4 separate regions of the Homo sapiens genome follow, and all the other regions are linked to region 4. Evidence: promoter capture Hi-C in human tissues and cell types (Jung and others, 2019). All regions are on one chromosome and are shown on one strand. Each heading gives the region's core, a stretch centred on a gene start or on the middle of the fragment in contact. The rest is flanking DNA. Distances are from core to core; before and after follow the strand shown. Region 1 overlaps LYPLA1-TCEA1 (LYPLA1-TCEA1 readthrough). Region 2 has its middle 140 kb from the start of LINC02984. Region 3 overlaps LYPLA1-TCEA1 (LYPLA1-TCEA1 readthrough). Region 4 holds the start of ATP6V1H (ATPase H+ transporting V1 subunit H).

Region 1 (3,519 bases), core at 846-3,345, 130 kb after region 4:
GCCAGGTGTGGTGGTGGGCACCTGTAATCCCAGCTACTGGGGAGGCTGAGGCAGAAGAATAACTTGAACCCCTGAGGCGGAGGCTGCAGTGAGCCGAGGTCACGCCACTGCACTCCAGCCCAGCAACAGAGCAAGATTCCATCTCAAAAAAAAAAGTTCAAGTTGAACTATGCTGTGGATAAGAGGGTACCACATTAACCATAGCACTGCAGAGTACTTGAAACGTTTTTATGACCTTTCAGATTCTGATTCTGATCTTTCTGATAAAGATAGCAAAGCAATGAATCAAAAGAAAATACAGAAGAAAAAACTCCAGACTAAAAAAGAAATATTCAAAAAAATCTAGTTGAGAAAAAGAAAGAAACCAAGAAAGCTAATCAAAAGGATTCTGAAAATAAAACTGATATAGATAATTCTGAGAGAATTAAAAAAATGAAAACCATGTAAATCTAAGATAGCTCCCAACATAAGTCCAAAGAAGGAGAGCAAAAAATTTACACAAAAAAGTACAAAAGAGAAAAAAAACATTATTCAACATACTATCAACTCTTCTCTCAAAGAAAGATGAAGGACATTAGACTCGGGCACCTCTGATGTGAAATCTCCCAAGATCAAGTGTTCTAAGACAAGAAGAGAAATGCAACCAGTGGTTCCATCCATAACGGCAAGTGGCAGTGATGGTTATGAAAACTCAACAGACAGTAAAATGTTTGACAAAGATGCTCTAAAGGAAGATTTAGAAAGTGTTAGTAAAACAGGAAGTGATGAGGAATCTAAAAATGAAATTACAAGTATTGGTAGAGCTTCAGGTGATGATGACAATGGAAGTGATGATGAAAATGAAGAGGAGGATGAAGAGAATGGTGAGGATGATGATGCAAGTGACAGCAGCCCTAATCTTGCAAGGGGTAAAGGAAATATAGAAACTAGTTCTGAAAATGAAGATGATATGGCAGATTTGTTTCCAGAAGAATCAAGTTTTGGGCATGCATGGAGAGAATCAGATAAACCTGCTCCTCGTGCTGATGACATTACACATTAATTAGCAGTTTGCAACATGGACTGGGATAGATTAAAGGCAAAAGATTTGCTGACTCTGTTCAACTGATTTAAACCTAAAGGAGGTGTTATATTTCCTGTAAAAATATATTCTTCAGAGTTTGGAAAGGAGAGGGTGAAGGAAGAGCAAGTTTGAGGATCAGTAGAGCTATTAAGTGTTCCTGAAGATGCCCCAAAAAAGGACTGGACCTCTAGAGAAAAACTGAGAGGTTATCAACTCAAATGACTGAAGTACTATTATGCAGTAGTAGACTGTGATTCTCCTGAAACAGCCAGTAAAATTTATGAGGATTGTGGTGGCCTGGAATTTGAAAGTAGTTGTTCTTTCACAGATCTAAGGTTTATACCAGATGATACTACTTTTGATGATGAGCCGAAGGACGTAGCCTCAGAGGTGTATTTAACAGCATATAAACTAAATATATATCATATCTGCTGCAATGGGAACATCAATGGTGGAAATCACTTGGGATGAGACTGAACATGAAAGAATTACAACACTCAACAGGAAGCTTAAAAGGAAGAGCTTTTGGACATGGATTTTCAAGACTACTTAGCTTCCTCTAGCGAAAATGAAGAGGAGATAGAAGAGGAGCTACAAGGTGATGATGAAGTCAATGTAGAAGAAGATGGGAAAACAAAAGTCAGAAGGACGATGAAGAACAAATCACTAAATATAGGCAACTTTTGCAGGTTATTCAAGAAAAAGAAAAGAAAGACAAAGAAAATGATATGGAAATGGAAACGAAGTGGGTTCCAGGTCTTAAAGAAAGTGCAAAGAGATGGTCAAGAACAAATTGAAAGGAAAGGATAAACTGACCCCTTGGGAACAATTTTTAAAGAAGAAAGAAAAAAAGACAAAAAGAAAAAGAAGACTCTTGCTAAAGAGGCCAGTGAAAATTAACTTCCCTCTGATGTTGATATGAATGACCAGTACTTTGCTAAAGAAGTTTAAAAAAATAGGTATAAAGAAAAAAGTGAACAAAATCTGCAAAAGATGGCACATCTCCAGAAGAAGAAACCAAAATAGAAAGATGAAAGGCTGAAATGGCTTTCCTTACTGGATGAGGAGGAGGAAAGTAAGAAACACTTCAATTACAACAAGATTGTGGAGCACCAGAACCTGAGCAAAAAGAAGAAAAAGAAGAAAAAGCAGCTCATGAAAAAAAAGAAATTATTAGAGGATGACTTTGAGGTAAATGTTAGCAATGCATGGTTTCAAGCAATGTACACTTCCCACTTGTTCAATGTGCATCCCTCAGATCCCAATTTCAAGAAAACAAAAGCTGTGGAAAAAACCCTTGAGGAGAAAGCCTGGCAAAGAGAACAGAAAAAACAAGAACTTACTCAGGCAATAAAGAAAAAAGAGGGCCAGGCACAGTGGCTCACGCCTATAATCCCAGCACTTTGGGAGGCCAAGATGGGTGGATCACCTGAGGTCAGGAGTTCGAGACCAGCCTGGCCAACATGGTGAAACCCTGTCTCTACTAAAAATACAAGAAAATTAGCCAGGCATGGTGGCTGGCACCTGTAATCCCAGCTACTCGGGAGGCTGAGGCAGGAGAATCATTTGAACCAGGGAGGTGGGGGTTTCGGTGAAGTCCACTGATCCTGCCTTGTCAATGTTTATTAAATCTGTAAAAACCAAAACAGAGCAGTTTCAAGCAAGAAAAAAAAAGTCAAATAACTGGATGTTATTTCTTTTTGAATTGAAAACATCCCCTAAAATATACAGAAATAGTAGGAGAAATATTTATTGGGAACAAAGCTACCTTTCAAGAATATGAATAAAATCTCATTCTAAACATAGTAAAATTTTTCTTCATAAATAGTTGTTCTTAATTGTGGATGACTGACAAATTTGTATTGTATATTCCTATAGATTAGTCATAATTAAATCAAATTACCTGAATTGTAGGGTTTATAAAATGTTTATATTTTATGAAGTTCAATTCCAACTAGTGGAAAGTTACTCTAGCTTTCTGGTTTTTTTGGGGGGTAGTGGGGGTGGGGGTGGGGGGGGGACGGAGTTTCATTCTTGTCACCCAGGCTGGAGTGCAATGGCATGATCTCAGCTCACTGCAACCTCCACTTCCTGGGTTCAAGCAATTCTCCTGCCTCAGCCTCCTAAGTAGCTAGGATTACAGGCAAGCGCCAACACGCCTGCCTAATTTTTTGTATTTTTAGTAGAGATGGGGGTTTCACCATGTTGGCCAGGCTGTTCTCAAGCTCCTGACCTCAGGTGATCCGCCTGCCTCAGCCTCCCAAAGTGTTGGGATTCCAGATGTGAGCCACCGCACCCAGCCTACTCCAGCTTTTTAAAAGGCTGTTTACAATTCTATGTAAAAATAGAGCAGTATCTACGCTTGTTTGTTTAAAGGTTAGGGATAATTTGAAATATATATATATATAATACATTAATTTCTCTGGGAGCAGGAGGCAGATTTAAATAGCTATTAA
Region 2 (3,181 bases), core at 424-2,923, 180 kb before region 4:
CTGGTTCAAAGGGCACGCCTACCGAGCTGGATAGAGTAAAGGAAGAATCAGAAAGAGAAAGCGCTCAGCGCGTGTTGCTTAGCAGCACAGACTCAAAACAGGACAAAGCAATTAGAGAAAATTATCACGGGCGGAAGGGGCGGATCGGTCCCCTGAGATTTTCAGATCATCCAGACAGATTACCCATTGGAAATGGCCTAGAGACACACAGAAAGGGGAGGGAATAAAACGGCTGCTGGAAACACAGCCCTGGATTCTGGGGCTGTATGAAAAAAGAACATAGATTTATCTCCCGGTGAAACTCAGATTTTCCGCCCAGAACGCTCACATTTCTTCTGCGCTGGAAGTGCCAGCTGGTATTGATGATGTTGTCTGTTTGGTTATACTTCAATCCAAAAACTGGCGGGGACATTAGGCACTAATGGATGGGATGTATTTAAAACATCTACAACTTATGATGTGCTCAGCTCTATCCTAAGGCCATATCTCACACATTCCTAAAACAGCCTACCAGTTAGGTACTCTTTGTTATCACCATTTTACGGAAACAGAAACAGTGGCACAGAGAGGTCAAGTTGCTTGTCTAAGGCCTCAGAGCTGGTGAGCGAGGGGCAGAGCCAGGACTTGTGCCCATGCCCTCTGTCTCCCTAGCCCAGCCTCTGACCGCACCACAGAGTGTGGTGATGCAGGTGAGGGGGAGGGCAAGAAGATGGTCCTCTCTCGGCAAATGCTGGCCACCTGCAGGGCTGTGAGTCACAGGACTTTAGGGATATTAAGCTGTCTGAAGAGGCCCAGGATCTCAGGGCTTATTTTGTGCATGCTCCTGAGGGTTTCTGAGTGGGTACAGTGAGGAATCCCTCACACAAAGCAAGTGAAGCACATCTAGCTGAGCCTCCCTCCCTTGGCTACCCAGAAAGACCCTGGTCCTGAGCGTGCAGAATGTTTTGCATTCCAGCTGCTGTGACCTGGGAAGGACCGCTGGCCCCATCCTGGCCTTTTGAGCACAGCCATCCCACTCACCCAGATCCCACAGCAGCCTCCAGGGCCCATGCCCCACCCCAGGTGTCCCCTTTCTCCTCCCTAATTCTCAGTCTCTTGGCCTCAAAAGCTGAATTTCCTGGACATGTTTCCCTGACACTTTAAAGACCCATTTAGATACCATTTCCTGGCTTTATGATTTCTGTTATCCCCTATGCCCACTCCCCTGCAAAGACACACACACCAGCTTTACCTAATCCCTTGATTATTGTGGCACCTTGTCCACATCCCAGCCCTCCCCACCACTGCCCTGTGGTCATCTGTGCTCACTAAAGGAGTGAATGAGACAACCTCAAAGATACCAGAGATGCCCCATAAACACTCTACAGCACTGAGGATGGGTGTGGTGGGCTGTATTTTATTTTGTTGTTAGAAATTATTTCATGTGCTGACTCATAATTTGTCTCTGTGAGTTGTTTGCTTATGAAGTAGAGCATTAGCTAAGAATCTCAAGCCAGAACAAGTGATTCGGCCAAGAACCTGCCATCTTTACCTCCGCCTTCGTCTGTCCTCATGTCTTTCACAGGAAAATCTGACGGGAACAGGAACATGACTCAGCCAGACCATTTCTTACATTGGTTTGCCCCAGTTTTCTATCTGTGCTGCTCACAATTTTTCTTCCTCTACTGTAAAGATTGACTTAACAATTCAAATGATGTTTATCTTCAATGTACCTTGGAAAATTTTAAGAAAGTGCTGCTTTCCACTCAGCTTTCAACTTGTCCGGATGTGCACATAAAAGCAAGAAAGCAAGAGCACAGAGTGTCATGCCATTGTCTCTCTCACTGAAAGGAATTGCAGAGGCTTCACTTGTGGGGTCAAAGTTCCAGAATAAAACAAACCTGCTATTGGAAATGACATTTCACAATGTCCACCCACAAATCGGTGACCAAAACAAGGCCATGATATTCACTTCCAGAAACCCATTTGCATTAATGGAAATTTTAAAAAGAATTCTTTTGTGTTTTTTCACCTAAATTAGCATAGCAATGGTAATTGCCGAGGGGTATTCAAAAAGCGGATATTGGCAGGTAACTTGGAAAACAACCACTCCTTTTGAAAATTTAGGGCAAGAGGAAAGTATGGACAATTACAGGCCGGTGAGTGCTTCAAGGCAATGGCTCCCAAACTGGATTCTAACTTGAATTGTACAGCACAATTTTGGAGTGCCTTCTCATCCTGGGAAGCCTCTCTCTTGTAGGGAGATGACCCAACAGAATTTGTTCCTGGTTACTGGAGTAAGTGAGCACTGACTATGCATCAGGACCTGTAATAAGCGCCTAACTAAAATACACGATCTCATTTCATCTTCCTATCAAAGCTGCCAAATAGGCACTATTAACACCATTTTATAGATGGAAAAACTGAACCTCCAAAAAGGGTTTAGCAGTATGAACCACGGCTCCAATGTAAATCACCACCCTTTATCAGGAGGCATCCCACCAGACCCTGGCACTGCCTCCCAGGCCCTCCTTGCGTACACTCTTGAAGAAATCAAGCAACTCATTCCCTACCTCTTGACTACTTTTTTAAAAGGCTGATTTAACCCCAAAGTGCCTCTTACTTTTCGTCGCTCAACCTCCCTGCTATGCCATAGCTGAATTTGTCCATTCTTCTCCAGAGCCCAAGGGCCTTGGGGCACCGAAAGAGCTCAGCTCAGCCTCCACTCACTATCACCCAGGAGCCCATGTGCCTGCAAGGACTACCTCCATTCGGACCTTTCTGTGGTTCTGCAAGCGACGTGCCCAGAATCCTGGAATCCGTCCTCCCTTCACTGAAACCTCAGGAGGTGGCCGTTCTTTCCTTGGCCTTTCTTTATTTAAGGCTTTTCTCTGATCTCAAAATTAATTAATTCTCACTGAGAAAAATTGCAAAATACAGAAATATATAGACAGGAAATTAAAATCAGTCCTGATCCAACCTGCCAGAGACCAATGTTGTTGAACACGCTTACCAAGGCCTCGCCAGGGCCTGTTTACTGTCCACTCCACGTGCACATTGTTCACACACACATTGAGCATCTACTGCTTACCAGGCACCGCGTGAGGAGCCGGGTGCAGGGAAGTGACTCTGGCCTCCTCTGATTTGCCGTGGGGAGGCCACAAGGCAAGCAAAGAGCCACAATAAAAACCTCATAAACAGT
Region 3 (3,424 bases), core at 190-2,689, 240 kb after region 4:
TATTCCTTATTACAATTAGGGGAGAAAAGACAAAAGTAGAAAATGAAAAGCATTTGGACTGGTGCGATCAAGAACTAATCCTTTTTTTAAAAAAAGAAACAATCATTAACAGCTTAGCTCCTATTTGTTATGAGACTATATTGTATCTACAGTTTTAGAATGTACTTTTTTTTTGGTAGAGACAGGATCTCACTATGTTGCCCAGGCTGGTATCAAACTCCTGGCCTCAAGTGATCCTCCTGCCTTGGCTTTCCAAAGTGTTTGAATTAAAGGTGTGAGCCATTGCACCTGCCCAGGATACACTTTTTCCACTTAAATTGCTGGAATTCTAACTTATCAAATATTCTTCTTTGTAAACATTTTGGCATTTCAATTTTTTTCACACAGATTTCTCATGGTACAGTCTTTCTTTCTTTTTCTGAGACGGAGTCTCGCTCTCTTGCCCAGGCTAGAGTGCAGTGGCGCGATCTCGGCTCACTGCAAGCCCCGCCTCCCAGGTTCACGCCATTCTCCCGCCTCAGCCTCCCAAGTAGCTGGGACTACAGGTACCCGCCACTACGCCTGGCTAATTTTTTGTATTTTTAGTAGAGACGGGGTTTCCCCATGTTAGCCAGGATGGTCTCGATCTCCTGACCTCGTGATCCGCCCGCCTCGGCTTCCCAAAGTGCTGGGATCACAGACATGAGCCACCGCACCCGGTCTCATTGTACAGTCTTATAAAATGAATGTTCGCAGACATCATTTTTTCCTTAGAAAAAATTCTTTAAAACATTAATGTCACAAAAATCTTTTAAAAAATTAGGCCTTTGCACATATACTGTTAAATTAGTCTAGAAGAATACTTAAAAATCAGAGACAGAAATTGAAGACACCTCAGATAAAGTAGGTTAAGACCACATGGTGAAGAAATGACTGCTGTGCTCTATATTTGAATGTTAACAGGTAGCCCATAAGAACCCACAGAAAAATCAAATGATGAATATTATCATCTTAGGAATATTACTCTAAGCAAATACAGCTCTAACTCTCATGCAAGCTAAAAATAACAATGAAAAGCTCAATTTTTCATAGTATGAATATACAAACAGTTCCCAACTTATAATGGCTAAATTTATGATTTTTTGATTTTATGATGAATTTATCATGATGTAAAACATCTGTATATCAAGAAATATTAAACAACAGGGGTCAATAATTGTTTTCTGCAAAGGACCAAAAGAGTCAACATTTTAGGCTTTACCAGCCAGAAGGTCTCTGTTGCAACTACTCAACTCAGCCACTCTAGGATGAAAATTAACTATAGACAACATGTAAACAAAAGGATGTGGTTCTGTTCCAACAAAACCTTATTTATGTACAATAAAATCTGAGTTTCATATACTTTTCATGTGTCACTAAGTCTTAAGTTTTTTCCTAACCATTTAGAAAAAGTAAAAACACGCAGCAGCGAAAATGCATAGGATGCAGCAAAGGCAATGCTCAAATGGAAATGTATAGCTGTAGACATCTGTGTTTAAAAATAAAGATCTCAGGCCGGGCACGGTGGCTCACGCCTGTAATCCCAGCACTTTGGGATGCTGAGGTGGGCAGATCACCTGAGGTCAGGAGTTCAAGACTAGCCTGGCCAATGTGGTGAAACCCTGTTTCTACTAAAAATACAAAAACTAGCCCGGTGTGGCAGTGAATGCCTGTAATCCCAGCTACTTGGGAGGCTGAGGCAGAGGAATCACTTGAACCTCGGAAGCAGAGGTTGCAGTGAGTTGAGATCACGCCACTGCACTCCAGCCTGGGAGACCAAAGAAAAAAAAAATAAATAAATATATATATATATATATATATAAAATAAAGACCTCAAATTAACAACCTAATCTTTTACCTGAAAAAAAACCAAAACCAAAAAACTTTATCCACAGTAAACAGAAAGAAGAAAATAATAAAAACTAGAGTGGAAATAAATGCAACAGAGGCCGGCGCGGTGGCTCACGCCTGTATTCCCAGCACTTTGGGAAGCTGAGGCGGGTGGATCGCTTGATGTCAGGAGTTAGAGACCAGCCTGGCTAACATGGTGAAACCCCATCTCTACCCAAAATACAAAAACTAGCTGGGTGTGGTGGCACGTGCCTGTAGTCCCAGCTACTCAGGAGGCTGAGACAAGAGAATTGCTTGAACCTGGGAGGCGGAGGTAGCAGTGAGTTGAGATTGAGCCACTGCACTCCAGCCTGGGAGAAAGAACGAGAGTCCATCTCAAAAAAAAAGAGAGAGACTATCAACTAAAGCAAAAGTTGGTTCTTTGAAAAGATCAACAAAAATGGCAAACCTTTAGCTAGATCAACCAAAGAAAAAAAACAGAGAAGACTCAAATTATTACAATCAGGAAACAAAGAACAGACTACTACTAACTTGACACATAGAAAAGATTATAAGAGAACAGTATGAACAATTACATGGTAATAAATTAGATAACCTAGACTAAATAGACAAATTCCTAGAATGACACAAACTACCAAAAACGGATTCAAGAAACAAAATCTATACAGGCCTGTAACAAGGAATTGAATCAGTAATCCAAAGTCTCACAGAGAAAAGCCCAGTACCACATGGCTTCAAGGTGAAGTCTACCAATCCAATGTTTAAAGAATCCTCCTCTCCCTCTCCCTCTCCCTCCTCTCCCTCCTCTTCCTCTCCCTCTCCCTCTCCCTCTTTGCACAGTCTCCCTCTGATGCCGAGACGAGGCTGGACTGTACTGCCGCCATCTCGGCTCACTGCAACCTCCCTGCCTGATTCTCCTGCCTCAGCCTGCCGAAGGCGCGCACTGCCACGCCTGACTGGTTTTTGTATTTTTTGGTTGAGACAGGGTTTCGCCGTGTTGGCCGGGCTGGTCTCCAGCTCCTGACCGCGAGTGATCTGCCAGCCTCGGCATCCCGAGGTGCCGGGATTGCAGACGGAGTCTCGCTCACTCAGTGCTCAATGTTGCCCAGGCTGGAGTGCAGTGGCGTGATCTCGGCTCACTATAACCTCCACCTCCCAGCTGCCTGCCTTGGCCTCCCAAAGTGCCGAGATTGCAGCCTCTGCACGGCCGCCACCCCATCTAGGAAGTGAGAAGTGTCTCTGCCCCGCCGCCCATCGTCTGGGATGTGAGGAGCCCCTCTGCCCAGTCTGGGAAGTGAGGAGCACCTCTTCCCGGCCGTCATCCCGTCTAGGAAGTGAGGAGCGTCTCTGCCCGGCCGCCCATCGTCTGGGATGTGGGGAGCGCCTCTGCCCTGCCGCCCCGTCTGGGATGTGAGGAGCGCCTCTGCCTGGCCGCGACCCCGTCTGGGAACTGAGGAGTGTCTCTGCCCCGCCGTCACCCCGTCCGGGAGGTGAGGAGCATCTCTGACCAGCCGCCCTGTCTGACAAGTGAGGAGCCCCTCCGCCCGGCCAGCCG
Region 4 (3,489 bases), core at 507-3,006:
CCTGTATTTCTCTCATAGAAGCATGACCATGAAAAAGTCTGATGCAAAAGCATATGACTGTCCATGATTCACAGCAAATTGGTACTTACTGAAGATAGGATTGCCAGTTGACTTTGTTTGCACGAACTTCTGCAGCCTTGGCAGCAATAATATTGGTGGGGACAGCAGCATCCACAGCACCTCGGATATCCATTTTGGTCATCTAAACTTCGTAATCTTGAATGTCTTTCAACAAATCTTCAATTTTGATGCAAGGTAAAAACAGAATACGAGGTGTTTCTTTTTTTTACAACTATTAATATTATGATTATGAATATCGTGATCACTTTAATCTCCCCAGGCATTCAACTCAAATATTAAATGTCCTAAGTCTGAAAGTATCATTATATTTCAAATATTGTCCACTGCTCCATAAAAGAGTTCTTTAGGCTTTTGCTTTTCTAGAAAAATTTTTTTCATTATTGGCACTAACACTGCAGTAAGATTTTTAAAGCAATCACCTAATATACTGAAATCAGAAATCATGATTAAATAGAATAGGTATAAATATGGGAAAAATTGTAAATTTATACAATTGTGGTTAACTTTTCTCATAGAGAAACAATAAGAATATGAATAGTACGGATAAGGCTAGTTTTATAAACATTTACTAAGCATCATTTTGAAGTGGCACATTAAAAATTCTAAGTCCTTTCGAAAATTACTCAAATTAAAATACACAAAGTGGGAACATAATTTCTTAGAAGACAGTGCTTTCCTTTTCAAACAAAATTCATAGTATTTGCAAAATCAAAATTCGGAGAGAAAGTTTTAGAACAAATACATATTACAATTTAGGTAAGCCAACAATGGCGGTCTGGCTGGACGACAAGAACCTACAATAATGAAATTCTATGTAATTCTCACTCCTAAACTTCCAGATACAAACGACTGATTTTAACACAAAGCAAAATACAGGTTGCCACTTGCAAAACATAAATTCACGGCCATGGCCACAAAGAAGTTAAAATCCTACCCAAAATTATATTCCGGGTTTCCAACGATCTTAATCAATTTGGAACTTAATCTCTGTATCTGAAGATTTGCTGTATAAACAACCCTGGGCAGCGCGAACGACAGGGCCCAGGAAAAAACAGGCTTCAACTGGGCCAGGCTGGAACTCTGCAGCCAAGGAGGCTCAGCCTCAGCGGCCCGTCCTGGCGTAGCTCAAGGTGTCTCTAGACAATTACCTAAGTCCCTGAACTACTCGCACCCCCAGCGATCCAGGGCCGTGGCCCAGTCCTGGAGAAGGTATACTTTTTACCCCTCCCCCTCCACTCTCCTGCCCGCCCCTGACGTTTCTTCCCCCTGCGAGAAAGGCTCCAGAATTTCGCTTAATAAACCTGGTTGAGGCCTGGAAGAAAAGCAATCTGGCAACCGGGGGCCGAAGAACAGGAGAGGACCAAGCGGCGAGACACCAGCACGCACCAGGCAAGCTGGAGAAACTGCAAGAGTCGCCTGACCTGGTCTGCAGCCTGAGACCAAACAACGCGAGGGCGGCCTTACCTCGCGAATCCTCGGGACCCCACAACGCACCCAAAGCCGGCAGGGAGGGTGGTCCGGGGCGCCGGGGACACAGCCGGGCTGGGGCGCCGCGTCAGAGCCAAGTAGGCGTCTCCTGTCAGGTCCAGAGGTCTGAGCAGTGGAGGGAGACTCCGGGAGCCGAAAGTGAAGCGGGTCCCGCACCAAGGAGACGTTGAGGGCCGCACAGGTAGAAGGAAGCCAGGGCGGCCGCAGTAGAATGACAGAGGCGCCGGTCACGTGATCGGAGGCACGTGACTGCTGCGGAAGGCGGAAGCCGGGAGACTCCAAAGCAGCAAGAGGAGGGGCGGGCGCTGCGGCGGGGCTTGTTCGGTGCGGACAACTGGATTCCCGAGTCCGTAACTTGGGCCCCGGAGCGACGCAAGGGTCGGGCCCCAGCCAGCCAGGGCAGGTGGGAGGCGGCGAGCGTGGCGGGCACGCTAAGACCCGCCGCCCCCAGACCTAGTGCCTCGCCTAGGGGAGGCCGAGGACCTCCGCCCGGAAGCAGCTAGCAGAGGCCAAAACGCTCTTATTGTAACCGTCATTCTTTTGAAAAGTTTGATTTCGCGCTTTCAAATTAATTTCCATTTGGATTTAACAGCTCCATGAAGCAGGCGTTCTTATTCTGATTTTAAATAGAAAACTCGGGCTGAGAAGTGGGTCTGAAAAGCTCTCTTAACCTAGGGTTGCACATTTAGCAAATAATAAATTCCATTGCAGTATTTACTTTTATACTAAAAAGTTATTCGTTGTTTATCTAAAATTCACATTTACAGGACGTCTGGTATTTTATCCAACAGTCCCATCTGGAGCCCAAATTTTCCCCTAGTCCAGGCCTCAGCAACTGTCTTTGCCTTAAAGTAAGAATGTACTGCCCTGGAGGTGAAGTATATATGATAGCATGTTTTCCTTAAAAAGCAATGAAAGGGGCCGGGCGCGGTGGCTCACTCCTGTAATCCCAGCACTTTGGGAGGCCGAGGCCAGTGGATCACCTGAGGTCTGGAGTTCGAGACCAGCTGACCAACATGGTGAAACCCCATCTCTACTAAAAATACAAAAAATTAGCTGGGTGTGGTGGCGCATGCCTGTAATCCCAGCTGCTTGGGAGGCTGAGGTAGGAAAATCACTTGAACCCAGGAGGCAGAGGTTGCAGTGAGCCAAGACCGCACCATTGTACTCCAGCCTGGGCAGAAAAAGCAAAACTCCGTCTCAAAAAGAAAAAAAAAAAATTCTTTGAAAGGGATTTATAACCAACCCATTTTTACTCGTAAAATTAAAGTCAGAATAATCAAAATCATGCATTGATTATGAATAAAGATATATAATAACAGTGTCAAAGATTGTACTAGGTCACTCATTCTGTCTTAGCCAGAAGTGAAAGTCTGTTGTTTTGAAAGCAAATCTAAGGGGAAAAACTTTCATAAAAGAGAAAAAGAAACCGATCGTGTACTAAGAAACTCCCAAAAGCTGAAACAGCATGTTTTCTGTGTAACTGAGCAAAGCTGGCAGTGAGGCCTGATCTTCGCATTTCCTTTCTGTATCACCTAAGCCACAGACTGGCGTGATACAGCGAGTCTCATCAGATTTCGGGAGGCTCTCCTCTTTTCCTAGAGGCACAAAGTTATGGAACAAAATCAGGAACAGTGCAGTGAGCAGAGGGGACTGCTTCACAGGCACCTGGGCTGGCGTTCTCCGAGCATCACAACATTACCAGACAATTTGCCTGGAGTAGGGAGAAGAGAAGAGGCAGGTACTCCCGGCATTATCTCTCTTAACATTATTTCTGTAACACTTCTATCGGAGATTTTTCTTGGTCCATTCAGGCTCCTGTAACAGTGCTGTAGACTGGGTGGCTTATAAACAACAGAAAGTCATTTTCTCACAGTTCTGGAGGTTGAAAGTTCAGAATTGGGGTGCTATCATGGTGAG

Evidence for each region. The method cuts DNA at HindIII sites, captures the fragments that hold promoters and counts their contacts. A contact is called where the count stands out against the background at its distance.
Region 1: a contact is called between a fragment that was not itself captured here and the fragment with the promoter of ATP6V1H in region 4, in 1 of the 25 tissues and cell types used here (mesenchymal stem cells).
Region 2: a contact is called between a fragment that was not itself captured here and the fragment with the promoter of ATP6V1H in region 4, in 1 of the 25 tissues and cell types used here (thymus).
Region 3: a contact is called between a fragment that was not itself captured here and the fragment with the promoter of ATP6V1H in region 4, in 1 of the 25 tissues and cell types used here (mesenchymal stem cells).

The regions. Positions count from the first base shown.
Region 1 is chr8:53,971,465-53,974,983 of GRCh38, forward strand. All of the region lies in intron 19 of LYPLA1-TCEA1 (LYPLA1-TCEA1 readthrough), which reads right to left. All of the region lies in intron 8 of TCEA1 (transcription elongation factor A1), which reads right to left. It also overlaps the pseudogene LOC100131254. Among named protein-coding and RNA genes, the nearest start is that of TCEA1, 49 kb to the right of the region's middle. The HindIII fragment of the contact is 6,532 bases long and covers 1-3,519 here.
Region 2 is chr8:53,657,918-53,661,098 of GRCh38, forward strand. No RefSeq gene overlaps it. Among named protein-coding and RNA genes, the nearest start is that of LINC02984, 140 kb to the left of the region's middle. RefSeq lists enhancers at 1-683, 154-233, 684-1,488, 1,797-2,337. The HindIII fragment of the contact is 7,622 bases long and covers 1-3,181 here.
Region 3 is chr8:54,082,325-54,085,748 of GRCh38, forward strand. The region is part of intron 2 of LYPLA1-TCEA1 (LYPLA1-TCEA1 readthrough); the gene reads right to left. The region is part of intron 2 of LYPLA1 (lysophospholipase 1); the gene reads right to left. Among named protein-coding and RNA genes, the nearest start is that of LYPLA1, 18 kb to the right of the region's middle. RefSeq lists an enhancer at 2,285-3,232. The HindIII fragment of the contact is 7,195 bases long and covers 1-3,424 here.
Region 4 is chr8:53,841,489-53,844,977 of GRCh38, forward strand. ATP6V1H (ATPase H+ transporting V1 subunit H) reads right to left here and starts at 1,757. Exons shown (of 14, transcript NM_015941.4): 1 at 1,546-1,757; 2 at 90-237. The coding sequence starts at 202. RefSeq lists enhancers at 1,706-1,845, 3,143-3,192 and a silencer at 1,916-2,065. The HindIII fragment of the contact is 6,704 bases long and covers 1,047-3,489 here.